2 separate regions of the Homo sapiens genome follow, and region 1 is linked to region 2. The links are contacts of gene promoters, found by promoter capture Hi-C in human tissues and cell types (Jung and others, 2019). All regions are on one chromosome and are shown on one strand. The core of a region is centred on a gene start or on the middle of the fragment in contact, and the rest is flanking DNA. Distances in the headings are between cores, read along the strand shown.

Evidence for each region. The method cuts DNA at HindIII sites, captures the fragments that hold promoters and counts their contacts. A contact is called where the count stands out against the background at its distance.
Region 1: a contact is called between a fragment that was not itself captured here and the fragment with the promoter of PPIH in region 2, in 1 of the 25 tissues and cell types used here (pancreas).

What each region holds. Positions count from the first base shown.
Region 1 is chr1:42,716,378-42,720,572 of GRCh38, reverse strand. No RefSeq gene overlaps it. Among named protein-coding and RNA genes, the nearest start is that of CLDN19, 22 kb to the left of the region's middle. The HindIII fragment of the contact is 7,093 bases long and covers 1-4,195 here.
Region 2 is chr1:42,657,168-42,660,871 of GRCh38, reverse strand. It overlaps PPIH (peptidylprolyl isomerase H), which reads right to left and starts at 2,449. Exons shown (of 10, transcript NM_006347.4): 1 at 2,360-2,449; 2 at 1,964-2,028; 3 at 1,621-1,644; 4 at 1,306-1,350; 5 at 1-10. The coding sequence starts at 2,425. CCDC30 (coiled-coil domain containing 30) reads right to left here. Exons shown (of 21, transcript NM_001395517.1): 21 at 3,682-3,704. The region is part of intron 1 of LOC124904162 (a long non-coding RNA gene); the gene reads left to right. The HindIII fragment of the contact is 7,698 bases long and covers 1-3,704 here.

The DNA.
Region 1 (4,195 bases), core at 254-2,753, 61 kb before region 2:
AGGTGTGCACCACCACGCCCAGCTAATTTTTCTATTTTTAGTAGAGATGGGTTTTCACCATGTTGGCCAGGCTGGTCTCAAACTTCTGACCTCAAGTGATCTGCCTGCCCCAGCCTCCCAAATTGCTGGGATTACAGGTGTGAGCCACCATGCCCAGCCCTCACCTTCCTACTTTTTAAATGATGCTTTTTATGATAGTCTGGGTCCTCCAAACAGTAGACCCCCTAGTGGGATTAAATATGTAAGAATTTTATTAGGGAAATATTTGTGAGAGAAAATGGAGAGGCAGCTGGGAGAGCCATCCCACAGTGATGCCAGCCTGGCCCAGGATGCTGGGTGGAAGCATCCTAGATCACTACATAAGTCTAAGGAAAGCTTGGCATGAGCATCAGGGGAGACCTTGAGGCATAGTCGGCTGTCAGTCCCATGTCTCCCAGGAAAAGGCCTGTTTTAGAATCCCTGCCACACTCAGCCATCAGCTTGGGAGCATTTGGTAAGCAGAGCCTCAGGGCAAATAAGGTGGTAAATTTTAGAGCAAAGCAACTCCGGCCCTTGGTTAATTACACTCCCTGTAGTTGGAGGTCTATAAACCACTTTCTTGTGGCAACTACACTTTTACAGTTTACAATTTTTATACCTATTATCTCAGTTTATCCTTACATTATTCCTGTAATAATAACACAAAACTTATTTATTTTTTTGAGACAGAGTTTTGCCCTGTTGCCCAGGCTGGAGTACAGTGGTGCAATCATAGTTCACTGCAGCCTTGACTTCCCAGGCTCAAGCCATCCTCCCGCCTCAGCCTCCCAAGTAGCTGGGACTACAGGCATGTGCCATTATGCCCGGCAAAAAAAAAATTTTTTTTGTTTTCTTTTTTTTGAGACGGAGTCTCGCTCTGTCGCCCAGGCTGGAGTGCAGTGGCATGATCTCAGCTCACCGCAACCTCCGCCTCCCGGGTTCAAGTGATTCTCCTGCCTCAGCCTCCTGAGTAGCTGGGATTATAGGCGCACGCCACCACTTGTATTTTTAGTAGAGACGGGGTTTCTTCATGTTGATCAAGCTGGTCTCAAACTCCTGACCTCATGAACCACCCGCCTCGGCCTCCCAAAGTGCTGGGATTACAGGTGTGAGCCACCGTGCCCGGCCCAAAAAAAATTTTTTTAAGAGATTGGGTCTCACTATGTTGCTCAGGCTGATCTCAAACTCCTGGGCTCAAATGATCCTCCTGTCTCGGCCTCTCAAAGTGCTGAGATTACAGGCATGAGCCACTGTACCCAGTCAGCCAAGACTTATTGAGCACTAACAAAATGTGGTTTCATTGATTCTTGTTTCATCCTCACAACTTTAGGAAGTGAGTACTATTTATACCCCTTTTTTTTTAATTAGGTGTTTAATTTTCTCCCATGTCCTGGATTCCGGAGGCAAGTGGCTTCTGGTATTGGCAAAGGAGGTGATCGTTAGGACTTAAGATGAAGTTTCATTGGCAGGACTAGAGCTCAGGTTTTCTTACTCCGAGTTGCTTTCCAAGTTTCTCTCATGTGAGGACACCGTGAGGTGGTGGTGAAGGTGGCTTTGTGCAATCCATGTCAGAAGAGGACCCTCACCGGAACCAAATCTACTGTTACCTTGACCTGGACTTGCCAGTCTCCAGAACCATGAGAAATAAATATCTACTGCTTAAGCCACTTAGTCTCTGGTATTTTGCTACAGCAGCCCAAGCAGGCTAAGACATGGTTCCACAGTCCCTTTCTAGCAGCAGCCCTCGTTTCCTTCACTCAGCTGCCAAGCCTCTTCATGGTTATCCATAATTTATTAATTTCAACATACGTATTGAGCTTTTGTTCTGTACTCTTTTAGCCCCATTATAGATGCTGGGATATAGCAGCAGTGAACAAAACAGACAGAAATCCCTACCCTTATGTAGCTTAACTCCTATCAGAGCAAGATAGTTAGCAAGCAAGTTAATGTAGCCAGCAGATGACATGCACCATGGAGGAAAATCAGGAAGGCCAGGAATTGGGGGCTGGCCATGGGAAGGGGTGGCCATCTTAAACAGGTAGGCAGGGGAGGCCCTGCTGATCAAAGACCTAAAGAACTGAGGAAGAAAGCCACTAACTTATCCGGCAGAACATTCTTCCAGTCAGAAGGGAAAAACAGGTGTGAATGCCTTGAGGTGGAAGAGTGCCATGAAAAGGAAGCCTGTGAGGTTGGGTGGAGTAAACCAGGGGAGAGAGTAGATGGCATGGGGCAGGTGGGGGCACATTGTGGAGGCTCCTGGAGGATGCTGGCTTCTGCTCAAAAGTGAGACTGGAAGCCTCTGAAGGATTTTGAGCAGGAGTGTCTCGAGGCCTGACACAGGTGTTAGGGTAGGAAGATGGTAGCAGGGAGGCTACCACAGCCTGGACCCAAGTGGTCAGAGGTAAGTGGTCAGATTCTAGCTGTTTCAAAGTCAGAATCAATGGAATCTGCAGACTCATTGGAGGGAAATTGAGAAGTCAAGGATGACTGAGGGTTTTGGCATGGACCTGTAAGGATGGACCAGCCATTGTGGAGATGCGGAAGGCTGCGGGAGCAGCAGGTGCGCTGTAGCTGCCCTATGCACCCCTCGCCTGCTGCAGTCTGAGGGTCACCTCCACATTCCACTCCTCTCACCAGTCATCTCCTGGTTGCTAAGGCCAGTAAACACTTTTCAACTCCCATCTTCTTGGACCTATTGGCTTTGATGTTGTGAGCAATTTCCTATTTTGCTCCCCAGTTTTCTGTGATGCCCCCTTTCTGGATTTGCCACATCTTTTTCTAGCCATCACTTCTATGTCTTGACCTTGTTCCAAAAGTTTGTGTCTCCATCCTCATCTCTCCACAAATGCCCCTAAAGGGATATGATTTTACCCATGATCACAGCTTCCAATAGCCACCTGATGAGTGTCACTCTGCCTCGGCCTACACCTCCCTCCTTAGCTTCCGACACACTCCCCATGGGTGCCCCCACAGGTCCTCAAACTCCACATATCTCAACTGAGCTATCAGACCCCTCTCCTCTTTATGCATGTTTTTATTCCAGCGAATGACAGTATCTGCATCAACATTCTGCAGTCATCCGTGCATTCAGCTAGTTACCTACATCTGCCAACTCGATTTCTGAAAATATCTCAAACTTGAGCCCCTCTTTCTTACTCCATATTTCTGGTTGAGGTCTCATTACTCATCTGGACTTTGGGACCTAACCTGTCATGCATTACACTTGACTGTGTGCCTCAGTCTCAGCTAGGCGTCCAAACTTCCCCAGTCAGCTGTCACTGCCTGACTGTTAATTCTCATTAGCTCTCTACATCTCCTAATCTAACTCAATATAGCTCCCTTCCCAACCTTCTCAGGGGCCCGCTGGAATTCAGGTACAGCCTCTTCTGTGTATGTTCTTATTCAGCTTTTTACTCTTTCTCTAATCATACTTACCTCCACAACCTTATTCCCTTGGAGCCCTTTCAATGGAGTCTGTTTTTTTTTCTCCTATGTCCCAAATACCATGGTGTCTGGTGGTGGGCTAAGTCTCCTTTGTTACATTATTGCCACTTTTTTTTTCTTTTTTTTTTAAAGACAGGGTCTCACTCTGTCACGCAGGCTGGAGTGCAGTGGCTCAATCATGGCTCATTGGAGCCCCAACCTCCTGGGATCAAGTGATCTTCGACCTCAGCCTCCAGAGTAGCTGGGACTAAAGGCATACACCACCAAATTTGGCTAATTTTTTATTTCTTTTTTTAGAGATGGGGTCTCACTTTGTTGCCCAGACTGGTCTCAAACTCCTGAGCTCACATATTTCTCCTGCCTCAGCCTCCCAAAGTACTGGGATTACAGGTATGAGCCACCACTGCCACAATTTTCCCTCTCTCCAAAGCCCTCAAAAACCCCTTCTTTGAAGCGATGGACAAAATTCATTTAGTCCAATGAGTTTCTGGATTAAACTCATTATCCAGAAGCATTCCTTCAAGATTTAATTCCTGTATCCCCTCACTGTCCTTTCCACACCCACTAACTACTTCCATCATCACTTGTGGCAATTTCAACATGCACACAAAAGATCCACTGAACACCGTGGTCTGACTCCACATTCAGTTGGCCTGTGATTCTTCCTCCTCCATCTCCCATCTACATATCCACAACCTAAGCTTTGTCAATACAAGTAACTGCACCATACCCC
Region 2 (3,704 bases), core at 1,200-3,699:
CTTTATGACCCTGAAACAGAGAGCAAAGAATACTGAGAAGATTTTATGGTTTAGAAAAACATAGATGTTGTTATTATTGTATTAGATTAACGTTGATTTCAAAATACACTATCACTTTGGCTATTATAAAATCATTACTCTTAGCTGGGTGCGGTAGCTCACGCCTGTAATCCCAGCAGTTTGGGAGGCCGAGGCAGGCAGATCACATGAGGCCAGGAGTTTGAGACCAGCCTGGCCAACATGGCAAAACCCCGTCTCTACTAAAAATACAAAAATTAGCCGAGCGTGGTGGCACATGCCTGTAGTCCTGGCTACTCGGGAGGCTGAGGCAGAAGAATTGCTTGAACCCAGGAGGCGGAGGTTGCAGTGAGCCAAGATCATGCCACTGCACTTTAGCCTGGGCGACAGAGTGGGACTCTGTCTCAAAAAAACAAAACAAAACAAAAAAAACCTGAAGATTATTCTTTTCCTGAATGATTAAGCTGAAAGGATAATTAACCATAAAAAAGGATTTTCGTTATAAATTAGGGCATGTTAGAGTTGATCAAGTGCATGATCTGGTACCTGAACAGTAATAAGAAGAAGGGGCTGAAAGCTTACTTGCCAAAGCAAAAGGCAGAGCAAGGGTTTGATGTAAATTTGGGGGAAAGAACTACAGAGAATTTATGTGAAATGTACTGCTAAACATGTAAGGGCTTAACAACTGTTAGCTATTACCCCTAGGGAGGGTCCTTAACCTTTCTTATCCTCAGTTTCCTCCTCTGTAGAATGCAGATCACCCATACCACTTCACAGGAGTCTTACTGGGGATTAGAGACCCAAAGCTCTAAAGCTGTGATATAATTATGTGCTAACATTGTTACTAACCACAGTGAGGCCATGAGAAAGATTCTATATTGAAATGAGACTAAGTGTTGACATACTCCACTCCCCAGGAAATATGATTATCCTTGGACAATCATATATGATCATTTTAGGAATTAGTTATAAATATCAACCAGCAGGATATATTATATGCACTTTAGGATTACAAGTGTACTTTTTAAAAAATCTGCATTCGCACAAACAAGTGCATGAAAAAGACAAGATATTGTAAAGATGAGTAGTTTCTGTTTTAAAGACCTAAGAAGTGGGGGAGTGTAAGTAGAGTTAGAACATTTAATAAATCTTCAGTTGTTGAGTCCACAAAAACATTTCTTCTCAAGAAATGTAAGAATTACCCTCTGGTTTTATTTTCCTCTAAAGAGCCTAATCCCCCAGGAAATATTTCTGAAAGACTCCAGGATGGCTTGCCAAGAGCCTTACCTGTGGAAGGTGCTTCCTTTGTATCCTATTGGAACCCCATCTTTCCTATAACCGAAAAGAAAGAGACTTGGAGTGACAGCAGGTAGCACAAGGCCTTTCCAGTTTACCATGCACTGGAGCCAAAAGGACTCTCCTAAAGATGGTTGACAGACATAAAGAAGGCAAATAAACTAGGGACAGACCCTTGGGGCATTACCTTCTATCACTGTCACCAGCAATCATTCAAGGCCAGCAGGTGGTTCACCGATACCCTCACTGCAGCCCCAGAACACCCCTCTGGAGCAGGCAAAGAAGTCAAACACATCTGAAACTGACCTGAATTCTCCGGTGCAGAACTGCCTGAAAGGGACAAAAAATGAATGATTCAATCACTATGATGTCACAGTCGTGAGCGCCTCTAAATACGGGAAAGAATAAACACTGGAGCCAGCAAGTCCACCAATCGGCCAGCCAGACGTCCAGACACGCAGTCACACAGACTAACAACGTAAATTAACACGGGAACAATCCAAACGGCAACCAGACAGAGCAATGCATGGAGGAATCAGGTCTCAAGAGCAGTGAGCGGACGGACAGAGGTAGACAGGCTATTTCAGGCGGCTGACTGGAGCCCGACTTCTGCCTCAGCTAATCCAGCGGAGCTGGAGCACGTCCTTACCTAAAGTTCTCGGCCGTCTTAGGCACAACGTCTGCAAAGAGCTCGATCTTCATGCGGCCAACTTCCTGCAATCAGCGGGAGAGTGTCAGAAGGCCCAGTCCAAGACCATGAGGGCTTCACGGAGCAGGGGGCATGATGGGCTGACCCACCACCCTGCCGCTCGGTATCTCCCACCTCCGCCTCCCTAGTCTAACCGCCCAGTTCCTCCAGAAGCGGGGCGCTAGGATTGGGGAGACTCCTCCTCCTCCTTTCCCCCCGCCCGGCAGGTCGGTAGGTTCGGGTGCAATTTCACTTTCTGGCTGGCTTCCCGAGTCCGCTCTCTCTGGGTGAGTTCTGCCTGCCTAGCCCCGAGCAGTTTCCCTTCGGCGCAGGTGTGGGCAGCCTCCTGGATCTCACCTGACCGCCAATACTGACATCAAAGAACACCACGGGGTTAACAGGACTTGAATTTGCCACCGCCATGGCTCCGACCCGGAAGCAGAAGTCGGGAGCGTGGGATTCCGGCGAACCTAAAGCCCGGTCCGCGGATTTCGTCCGGGGAGCAGGCGCGGTAGACGTGGAGCGAGACCAGGCTCCGCCCCCGGAAGCTGTCGCCCCGTGCGGTGTGTGCTGAGACTGCTAGGGTCTAGCTGAGAGACTCTGCCTGGCACTGGGGACGCGGGAGTGAGGAGGAGGAAAGCCTTGACATCTTTTTGGTTAAGGTCAATGGTCACCCCACTCACGTGGCTGTACTAAGGGCAGTACAAGTTGATCTTGCTCTAGCTAGGACTTTTGGACTAGGCAGTCGCCAGGGTCCTCCTTATCGGCTCTTGCAGCCAAGCCCTCTGCACCGCCACACGTGCTGTCTGTCTTCTGCCCGCTAGTGTGAACACCGTGAAGGCAGGAACTCTGGTTTGTTCATCCTCAGCGTTTAGAACAGCTTGGCACGTACAGGCTTGCTAAGTAAATATCCCTTCCTCTAAGTCAGGACAATAGATAATGTTTGTTCTGCCACAAAAGCTACCAGTTTTGTCATTTCCAATTCATTTCCCATAAAGCAACTAGAGTTTTTTATTTTTTATTTTTAAAATAACTCTTGTGCTTCCTATTTATTTTAAAAATAACTCCTGGCTTCCCATATTTAGAATAAAATCCAATTCCGTGCATACGAAGCCCTACAGTGCATTTATCTGGCTATCACGTACCTGACCTCATCTTGTACCACTTGCCCTTAGTTACTGTGCTCTGACCTGTCTGTTCCTCCAGGTCACTGAGATCCCTCCTCTCTTTAGGGCTTTGTAATAGCTGTTACTTCTGTCTGAAATATTCCTTCCAGAACTTAATGTGGGTTGGCGGGGGATTGTGGGGGTTGGTTGGGGTATGCGTGTGGGAAGTAATGCTCCTTGTAGTTCAGGGCTCACCCCAGATGTTACCTCCTGAGAGGCAACATTAGACCTAATCTAAAGTAGCCCTTGGTCATTCAGATCACTGGTTTGTTTTCTTCATGCCACCCCCACTTCCACATTATCTTCGTATGGTATGTGTCTACACCTCATTTCCTGCCACACACACATAATCTTCCTCCCTGATAGCATATAAACTCCATGAAAGTAGAGACTCTCCTGGTCCTATTCGCAGCTGTAGCTGCAATGTCGCCTACTGAATAGCATATAGTAGGTATTCAATAAATAATAGATGCAATGAATTTAGTGAAAGAAGGGGACCTTGGGCAAGGCTCATTCAATATAACAGCATGCATTTA